2 separate regions of the Homo sapiens genome follow, and region 2 is linked to region 1. The links are contacts of gene promoters, found by promoter capture Hi-C in human tissues and cell types (Jung and others, 2019). All regions are on one chromosome and are shown on one strand. Each heading gives the region's core, a stretch centred on a gene start or on the middle of the fragment in contact. The rest is flanking DNA. Distances are from core to core; before and after follow the strand shown. Region 1 holds the start of ARSD (arylsulfatase D). Region 2 overlaps GYG2 (glycogenin 2).

The links. The method cuts DNA at HindIII sites, captures the fragments that hold promoters and counts their contacts. A contact is called where the count stands out against the background at its distance.
Region 2: a contact is called between a fragment that was not itself captured here and the fragment with the promoter of ARSD in region 1, in 4 of the 25 tissues and cell types used here (aorta, pancreas, small bowel and 1 more).

Annotation. Positions count from the first base shown.
Region 1 is chrX:2,925,914-2,930,825 of GRCh38, forward strand. ARSD (arylsulfatase D) reads right to left here and starts at 3,426. Exons shown (of 10, transcript NM_001669.4): 1 at 3,319-3,426. The coding sequence starts at 3,362. RefSeq lists silencers at 2,914-3,073, 3,094-3,443. The HindIII fragment of the contact is 14,341 bases long and covers 1-4,912 here.
Region 2 is chrX:2,852,563-2,857,382 of GRCh38, forward strand. It overlaps GYG2 (glycogenin 2), which reads left to right. Exons shown (of 11, transcript NM_001079855.2): 4 at 1,418-1,592; 5 at 2,431-2,593; 6 at 3,936-4,062. Among named protein-coding and RNA genes, the nearest start is that of GYG2, 26 kb to the left of the region's middle. The HindIII fragment of the contact is 8,433 bases long and covers 1-4,820 here.

The DNA of each region.
Region 1 (4,912 bases), core at 2,176-4,675:
CTGCACTGGTGTCCCTGGGCCAAACCGAGGGTCAGACTGCTATTTCTTGTGACCCAATAGCGAGATGCAGATGAATTGGGAAAGAAGAGAGTTTTTAATTCTGTAACCAGTTACAGGAGGAAGGCCTGGAAATTCTCTCCCAACCAACTCAAAATTACAAAGCTTTCCAGAGCTTATATACCTTCAAAGCTATATGTCTAAGTGTAAGTGTGCATTTATCTAAAGACATAAGTGATTAACTTCTTCTAATCTGTAATTAAGATCTGAGTCCTGAAGACCTTCCTCTGGAGCCTCGGTGAATTGACTTAATCTAGATGGGTCCAGGTGCTGGGGTGATTACCCTTATCTTGTCTCCTGCTAAATCACAGAGTTCTGGGGAGTTCCTTTAGTCCCCAACAAAGCTTGTTTGTGGAGGTCTGGGGAGTTTCTTCAGACCCACAATAAAACTTGTTTAATCCTAAATGGGTCCTGTTAAGAATTCCTTCGTTATCTTGTCATGCTTCAAAGGCCCAGGAGAGGCCTGGGCAGAACTCTTGGTGTGCTTTTGTTACATCCCAGCCTGTGCATAAAGGCGCTGGTTGTTTCAGCTTTTAGTATGTAACTTCACACTCAGTCAGTGCTGAAACAGTTGTTACGGAGGCCTGCATTAGTGAGACCTGGCCTGCCACACTAGACCATACAGGTCAGAACAAACTGGAATGGAGTCACTTGTGTTAACTGCCACATCGTCAAGCTGAACAGGGAAACAGGTCAGTTTTCCAAAAAACAGAAGATTTGAGTAAGCAAGAAGAAGATGTGTAGTTCATCTGAGCTAACAAAGTCTCCCGTGCTTTAACCCTGTAAGAAAAGTAACTTTGAAACAACCAATCTGCTTTATTATTCTTTTTTTTCTTTTTTTTGAGATGGGGTCTTGCTGTGCTGCCCAGGCTGTAGTGGCATGATGGTGGCTTACAGCAACCTCTGCCTGATTCTGAGGTGGGAGGATTGATTCAAGCAGTCCTTGAACTGCAGTGGATAGGTGGTGTCTTAGTGTTGGGGGATCGTGGCTGTGCTCTCCGGGGAGGACGCGAACGAGGGGTGTGTCTCAGGGTGTGTGAGGGGACACGGCTCTACTGGGGGGCAGGGGAGGAATAAGGCCATGGGGAGGGATCCGGTGTGGCCAGCAGGGCAATGGCCGCGGAAGGGGACAGGACGGGGCGTGTCTTGGAGGGTGGCGAGAGGCACGGCAGTGCTGCTGAGGCAGGAGAATAGGGTCTGGAGGCAGGGAACCTAAGGCTTTCCATGCCGACTTCCTAGAAGTAAATTGAAAGGAAAATCCTAACTTTCCTTTTTTTTTTAATTTTAATTTTTATTATTATTTTTTGAGATGGAGTTTCACTCTTGTCGCCCAGGCTGCAGTTCAATGGCATGATCCGGGCTCACTGCAACCTCCACCTCCAGGGTTCAAGCGATTCTCCTGTCTCAGCCTCCTGAGTAGCTGGGATCACAGGTGCCTGCCACCACGCCCGGCTAATTTTTTTGTAATTTTAGTAGAGGCCCGGCCTAATTTTTGTATTTTTAGTAGAGACGGGATTTCACCATATTGGCCATGCTGGTCTCAAACTCCTGACCTCAGGTGATCCACCCGTCTCGGCCTCCCAAAGTGCTGGGATTACAGGCATGAGCCACCTCGCCTGGCGGGAAAATCCTAACTTTCCATGCCTAAGTAACAAAAGGACCGAAGGCTTCCCTTTGACCTTTTCTATTGGGTAGATAGTAGACTGGCTGTCTGCAACCAATCGGACTGATTTCGGGTCTAGTCTTCGTGTGCAACTTTGTGACTTCACCCTAGTCTCTGATTAGTTGGGTTTTGCAACCAATCAGATGTTTGCACAGGAGTGTGACCTTTGTAACTTCACCCTTTGGTTGGCTGCTGCCTGCAACCAATCAGACTGATCGCGGGCCACCACTTCAGTTACATGAGGTGAGCATGAAGTGGCCAATGGGAAACTTCTAGGGGGTATTTGGACCCAAGAAGATTATGTACCCGGGCCCTTGAGCCGCTGCTTGGTCGGCTCCCACACTGTGACGTGTCCTTTTGTTTTCAATAAATCCCTGCTTTCCTTCTTTTGTTGCTTCATTCTTTCTTTGCTGGGCGTTTTGTCCAATTCTTTGTTCAAAACGCCAAGAACCTGGACAACTTGCAGTCACGACCCTCTACCGGTGGCACTGGGGCGCAAATGAAGCTGGGAATGCAGGACCCGGCGCATCTGAGGAAGTGCAGCGGGGCATGGCGGTGCTAGAGGGTGGGGACATGGAGGCGGCACAAGGCCAAGGCGCCGGGGGATGGCCAGAGGGAAGTAACGGCCGCGCTTGTGGTGGAGATGGGGACGGGACAGAGAAGTCTTGGGGGGTGACCGGGGTAGGCACGGCGGTGCTGGGGGGAGGGCGCCCAATGAAGCCCACGGGGGGGAAAGGGGCGTGTCTTACCGAGCGTGTTGGGGGAGTCACAGCCGTGCTTGGGAGGATGGGGTCTGGGGGAAGGACGGGGCGCGTCTTAGTGGGATGAGGGGGAGGGCACAGCCGTGCTGGGAAGGCAAAGGGCCGGGGGGCGGGATGGAGCATGTCATGGTGGGGCCGAAGAGGCGGGGGGCGGGAAGGGGCCTTCTTAGAAATCGGGAGGGCGTCACAGCTGTGCTCGGGAGGACGGGGCGTTGGGGAGGGACAGGGAGCGTCTTAGTGGACCCGGGGAACACGGCCGTGCTGGAAGGCATCGAGCTGGGGGGTTGGGGGCGGGACGGGGTGCCTCTTAGGAAGTGGGGCGGGCAAGGCTACGCTTCGGGGGATGGAGCCTTGGGGCGGGACGGGGCGCGTCTTAGTGGGGCAGAGCGGGGGGCGCGGTTCGGGGCGGGTCTTAGGGAGCCTTTGAAGGCCGAATCCGGGCAGCGGTGTAGCTGGGCGTGGAAGGCGGAGGACCCAGCAGGGCGTGACCGGCCCAGTTTCCGCTCCCTCCGGGTCCCGGCCAGCCTTCCTCCGCCCTCCCTTCCCTTCCTCCTTTGTTCTCTTTCCCTGCCCTTCCGCCTTCCCTTCAGTTCGGTCTCCTCCACCCGCCCTTCGTCCCCTCAGTCGCCCCCCATCCCTGGGCTCTGCTGTCTGGCGTCTTTCCCGGGCACAGAACGCGCCTCCAGCTACATTTTGGAGACTACAAGGCGCCGGACACAACCACGCCCTTTACAGGGGCCCAGGCTCGCCCGGGGCGCCCCTCGCCGTGCTCGCGACCCCCTCCCCAGGCCCCCACCCTAGGCCTTAGTATGGGCCGCGTCCCGGGGTCCCAGGCACCTGGCGGCGGGCGCGGCGCGTCCCCTCCGCGCGGCGGATCGCATGGCCGAGCGCTGGCCCAGAGCGCAGGACCTTGCCCTGCGCACTCCGCGCCCGGGCGCCGCTAGTGCCAAGGCTTCCGCCCTCTCAGCTGCGGGATCTGGGCCGGGCGCCCGCCCCTCCTTCATCCGCGTCATCTCCTGGCTCTCGGGACCTCCGGGACCTGCGCGTGGAAACAGGTTTTCCCAGGTCGTCACACGGGAAGGCCTGGGCTAAGGAGCTGATTAAACCCAGTTACGATTGACCGGGCGCGGTGGCTCCCGCCTGGAATCCCAGCAGTTTGGGAGGCCAAGACGAGTGGGTCACCTGAGGTCAGGAGTTCGAGACCAGCCTGGCCAACCTGGTGAAACCCCGTCTCTACTAAAAATACAAAAATTAGCTGGGTGTGGTAGTTCACGTCTGTAGTCCCAGCTATTCGGGAGGCTGAAGCAGGAGAGTTGCTTGAACCCGGGAGGTGGAGGTTGCAGTGAGCTGAGATCGCGCCACTGCAACTCCAGCCTGGGCGACAGAGTGACACTCCGTCTCAAAAAATAAATAAATAAAAATAAAAAATAAACCCAGTTAGGCTTGAGCACAGGGAGCCCCTTTTCTTTTTGTCAGGAAGGGTCTTAGGACCTACCCAGAGCAATCAAGTTGCGATTTCAGTTTCTCAAAGCTTGGTGTTTGAAATGTCTGTTCCGGATGCTGGACTTGTACTCTAAGTCTGGGACGGGGAATGCTAGATGGGCCCTTTTTTTTTGCTTTTATTACTATTATTATTATTATTTTGAGATAGGGACTCACTCTGTCGCCCAGGCTGGAGTGCAGTGGTGCGATCTCGGCTCAGTGCAACCTCCGTCTCCTGGGTTCAAGCGATTCTCCTGCCTCAGCCTCCCGAGTAGCTGGGACTACAGGCGCGTGCCACCACGCCCGGCTAATTCCAATTGCTATTTTTATCTTTGTTTCTTTCATCAGACTGCTGTTGAAATTACTCCTTTTGATTAATCACTGTGCCCTGGACCCCTCCCCATCTTTTCTGTGACTCATCCTTTTGTTTTTGAATGATGCTATTTTGCTCATTACCCTCTCACGTAATGCTTTTTTTGTATCTTTGGCTCTCCCTTTGTTGTTTGTTTGTTTTGTTTTTAACTCTTTTGACCTCTAGAAAGATCAAGGCTGAGAGTTGAGGCTGCAGTGAGCCTTTGTTTTTGTCTAACTCTCTTGACCTCCAGTCGCTGATTCTCTCAAGCCCCTTCATGTCTTACCTCATCCCCTCACATCCCCTCACAATGCAAGATCTGGTCAAAGTATAAATTCATATTTTGTAGGAAATGCTAGCTTACAAAACAATATCACATCCCTACCTCCAGCCCAGGTGACCCACTTTCCCTCAAAGGGGGTTGCTTAGGTCCTCTTCCACTGGTCAGGGACAAAATGATTCCATAGTCTTCAAGATTAACAGTACTTTCTTTTTCCAAGGCTGAGGCTGTCAAGGGTGAGGCTGTCACCGCCTCCCAAGGAAGTGGAACTACCGGTGTGCACCACCACCCCTGACACATTTTTGTTAATTTATTTT
Region 2 (4,820 bases), core at 1,623-4,122, 74 kb before region 1:
AACTAACAATGTAAGCTTTGAATACAGAAAGTAAAAATTGATAGAGATTGTTATGGACATCTGTTAGTTTCTACCAGCTCAGCATTTACATTTCTCTGCCTCTGCAGCTTACAGAGGGAAACTGTCTTCCTAAGAGCTGGCCCAAGTGCATGCATCTTAAGACAGTTCTGTTCAATTTGTCACATTTTTCAAGTATGCATGCATTTCTTTTTCATAATATTAATATTTATTACTATATATGAATACTAGATTGAAAGCCCAAGCATTCAGTTTACACACAGAAATTATGCAATTATATATCGCTTCACAAAGGCAGTGAACACATTACATTCTACAAAATCTACTTCACAGAAATTTAAAAATTCTAAATATCAAAAGGTACAGCTGAAGAAACAGGTATAAATTTGGCAGCCAGTAATTTTGACAGGGAAGTTGCAGCTTGCATGACTTTATTTTTTTGTTTGTTTTTTGAGACAGAGTCCCACTCTGTCGCCCAGGCTGGAGGGCAGTGGTGCCATCTCGGCTCACTGCAACCTCTGCCTCCTGGGTTCAAGTGATTCTCCTGCCTCAGCCTCTTGAGTAGCAGGAATTACAGGCGCCCACCAGCACGCCTGGCTAATTTAAATTTTTTGTTTGTTTGTTTTTGTTTTTTTGCTTGTTTGTTTTGAGATAGAGTCTCGCTCTGTTGCCCAGGTTGGAGTGCAGTGGTGCGATCTCAGGTCAGTGCAATCTCCGCCTCCCGGGTTCAAGCGATTCTCCTGCTTCGGCCTCCTGAGTAGCTGGGACTACAGGCGCCACCACACCTGGCTAATTTTTGTATTTTTAGTAGAGAAGGGGTTTCACCATGCTGGCCAGGCTGATCTTGAACTCCTGACCTCAAGTGATCCGGCTGCCTCGGCCTCCCAAAGTGCTGGGATTGCAGGCATAAGCCACCGCGCCAGGCCTTGCATGACTTTAAATATATGAATATGAAAATATTGAACTTAGAGTAATCATTGTGCTTTGTGTTGATTGAAAAATATAACAATGGCTATCAAAGAAGCATGTTCAAAGATGCTTAATTCACTTCAAAATGTCATACAAATTGTGGTGGTTTCTATGCACCTCTAAAGCTTCCGTCATTTAGCTCAGGTACATTACTAAAGTAATATATTAATTCTACCGGTACAGTGGGGTTTCACACCATTGGCATTTGCATTCAAGCATGCAGAGGCTTTTGGGCACAAGTGGACGGTGTGCACAGCTCTAAGCCATCCGTGGAAATGTGCTCTGAACATGGAGACCGCAGTGAGGGCTGTGGGGATTCTCTTTGCATTCCACGTTTGTGAGCAGCAAAACAGCACCCTCTTGAAGGAGGAGGTGGTTCTGTGCTGAATATTCACCCGCTGTCCCACTATTTGGCACATGTCTGTTCCAGGGTCATCCTCTCGAAGGTGTTCGATGAAGTCATTGAAGTGAATCTAATCGATAGTGCCGACTACATCCACCTGGCCTTTCTGAAGAGACCTGAGCTCGGGCTCACCCTCACCAAGCTTCACTGTTGGACTCTCACTCACTACAGCAAGTGTGTCTTCCTGGATGCAGACACTCTGGTGAGTGAAGACTCTCTGCTTGATAGGAAACCCTCCAAGACCACATCTCTATCCTTAAGCAGGCTGTCAACTTTTTTTTGTGTGTGTGTGACACAGTCGCTCTGTCACCCAAGCTGGAGTGCAATGGCACGATCTCGGCTCACTGCAACCTCCGCCTCCTGAGTTCAAGTGATTCTCCCACCTCAGCCTCCCGAGTGGCTGCTATTACAGGCACCCGCCTTCATGCCCGGTTAATTTTTGTATTTCTGTACAGACTGGGTTTCGCCATGCTGGCCGGGCTGTCACCTCTTACTGGTAGATTCCTGTGAGGCCATGTGCATTTCTATTTCTAACACAGATGTTCAGTCTATTATAATCAGGCATAACATACCCCCGAGCACTGTGCTAGACCCTGCTGAAGAGAACAGGGGATTGGAAGACATGTTCCTACCCCAGGAATGAATTATAACCACAGTATTTTACACGCACAAAATAGAATCATGAGGGAAAAAACTTGTGACTGGGCACAGTGGCTCATGCCTGTAATCTCAGCACTTTGGGAGCTTGAGATGGGTGGATCACTTGAGGCCAGGAGTTTGAGACCAGCCTGGCCAACACGGTGAAACCGTTTTTACTAAAAATACAAAAATTAGCCAGGCATGGTAACAGGTGCCTGTAATCCCAGCTACTCAAGAGGCTGAGGTGGGGGGATCGCTTGAACCCGGGAGGCGGAGGCCGCAGTGAGCCGAGACTGAAGCACTGCACTCCAGCCTGGGCGACAGAGCAAGACTCTGTCTCAAAAACAGAAGCATTGGTAAAAGAAGCATTGCGGCGGGTTCTGCGTGTTTTGCTTCACCAGGTGCTGTCCAATGTCGATGAGCTGTTTGACAGGGGAGAGTTTTCTGCGGCCCCGGACCCCGGATGGCCGGATTGCTTCAATAGCGGGGTGTTTGTCTTCCAGCCTTCTCTCCACACGCATAAACTCCTGCTACAGCACGCCATGGAACACGGCAGCTTTGACGGTAAGTCAGGGCAGCCCGGACGCTTAGGGTCTCTGTTGCACACACTCAACTCTGCAGATGTAACACGAAGTCAGCCGTTGACCATACAGTCACACCTCGCTCAGCGACAGGGATGCGGTCTGAGAAATGTGTTGTTAAGTGATTTTGTCATTGTATGAACGTCCCAGAGTGTATCTGCACACACCTGGATGATGTAGCCTACTGTATACCTAGGCTGGAGGGTACAGCCTATTCCTTCTAGGCTACAAACCCATATAGCATGGGAGTGCACTGAATGTTGTAGGCAACTGTAACATAATGGGAGGTATCTGTGTTCTAAACATACCTAAACATCACAAAGGTCCAGTGAAAATACAGTATAAAATCTTATGGGACCACCGTCAGATGTATGGTCTGTCTTTGACCGAAGCACTTTTATGTGTTGCATGACTGTACTTGGCATTGAACATGGGCTGGCCGTGGTGGCTCATGCCTGTAATCCCAGCACTTTGGGAGGCCAGGGCGGACAGATTGCTTGAGGCGAGGAGTTCAAGACCGGGGTGGGCAGATGGCTTGAGACCAGGAGTTCAAGACCAGCCTAGGCAACGTGGCAAGACCCCATCTCTACAAAAAATACAAAAATAAGCTGGATGTGATGCTGGCACCTGTAGTCCCCAAGCCCTGGGAGGCTGAGTTGGGAGCAGCAGCTGAGCTCAGGAGCTCAAGCCTACAGTGAGCTATGATTGCACCACTGCACTCCAGTCAGGTTGACAGAGTGAGACCCTGTCTCAGAGAAAAAGAAAAGAGCATGGCTGTGTTCCAATAAAACTTTATTTATAAAAACATGCACAGTGTGTAGTTGCTTGACCCATGGTAGAATATAGGGAGAATTAAAAGGAGGCAACCTGAAGCCGAGTATTTGTTGAAATGGGCGTCAGTAGAGAGGAAATGTGCTGGAATTTTTGTAAAGTAAAAGAAAATACTGGAGCAGTGAAGAATTGCCTCTAGGTAAAGGGGAAGTTAATGAAACTGGCAAAAATGATGGGAAAAGCATTGTCACTACCAGGGAGAATTCATTAGGGGACCAGTGGAATGCTTTGGACTCCATATGCAATTTTAGCATTCATTCTGGGGACTCCTGGTGGAGAATTTTGGAGGGAATATGCACTTATTTTTATCAATGGCTTGGGTTATCAGTCTTTTCTGAGAACCAAGAGAATGTGTGCAGCTGGCAGACAGAAGAAATGGAATTAGTAACCCTGAAGGCAAGTGTTTATGTTGAGAGCTTCAGGCACATCTCGCATTCTTGGAGTGAACCAAGCCATACTTTGCTAACCTGCTTTTGTGTTTGCTCATTATGTAGGGGCAGACCAAGGCTTACTGAATAGTTTCTTCAGGAACTGGTCGACCACAGACATCCACAAGCACCTGCCGTTCATCTATAACTTGAGTAGTAACACGATGTACACTTACAGCCCTGCCTTCAAGCAGTAAGTTCTCCACCCTGGCGAATCCTGCCAGATCTGCCACTACCGATCCACCTTCCCTCCTGGAAGACATACCAGCTGTCGGCATATTTAAAAACTCTATCTATCTATCTATCATCTATCTATCTATGTATCTATCTATCTATCTATCTATCTATCTATCTATCATCTATCTATCATCTATCTATCTATCACCTCTATCTAGGTAGATCTAAATATCTATTTATCTGTATAGATAGATACCTATGTCTATGTGTCTGTGTATCTAGATCTCTATGTCTATCTATATAGATATATATCTGTCTATATAGTTATCTACCTATATAGGCCTAGACATCTGTTTATCTATCTATCTATCTATCTATCTATCTATCTATCTATCTATCTATCCATATCTATCTATTTAGATCTGGATATCTATCTGTATACATAGATCTATATATCTATATCTATATATGTATCTATATCTAGATCTAGATATCTATATACATTGATCTATCTAATCTCTATATCTATGTAGATATTTATCTATCTATCTAGACCTAGATGTCTATCTATCTAGACCTAGATATCTATCTATCTAGACCTAGATATCTGTCTATCTGTCTAATCTATCATCTATCATATGTATCTATTCAGATAGATCTGGATATCTATCTATAAACATCTTATCTATCTATCTATCTAGATCTACATCACTATATAGATACCTATATCTATCTATCTAGAACTAGATATCTATGTATCTAGATATCCATCTA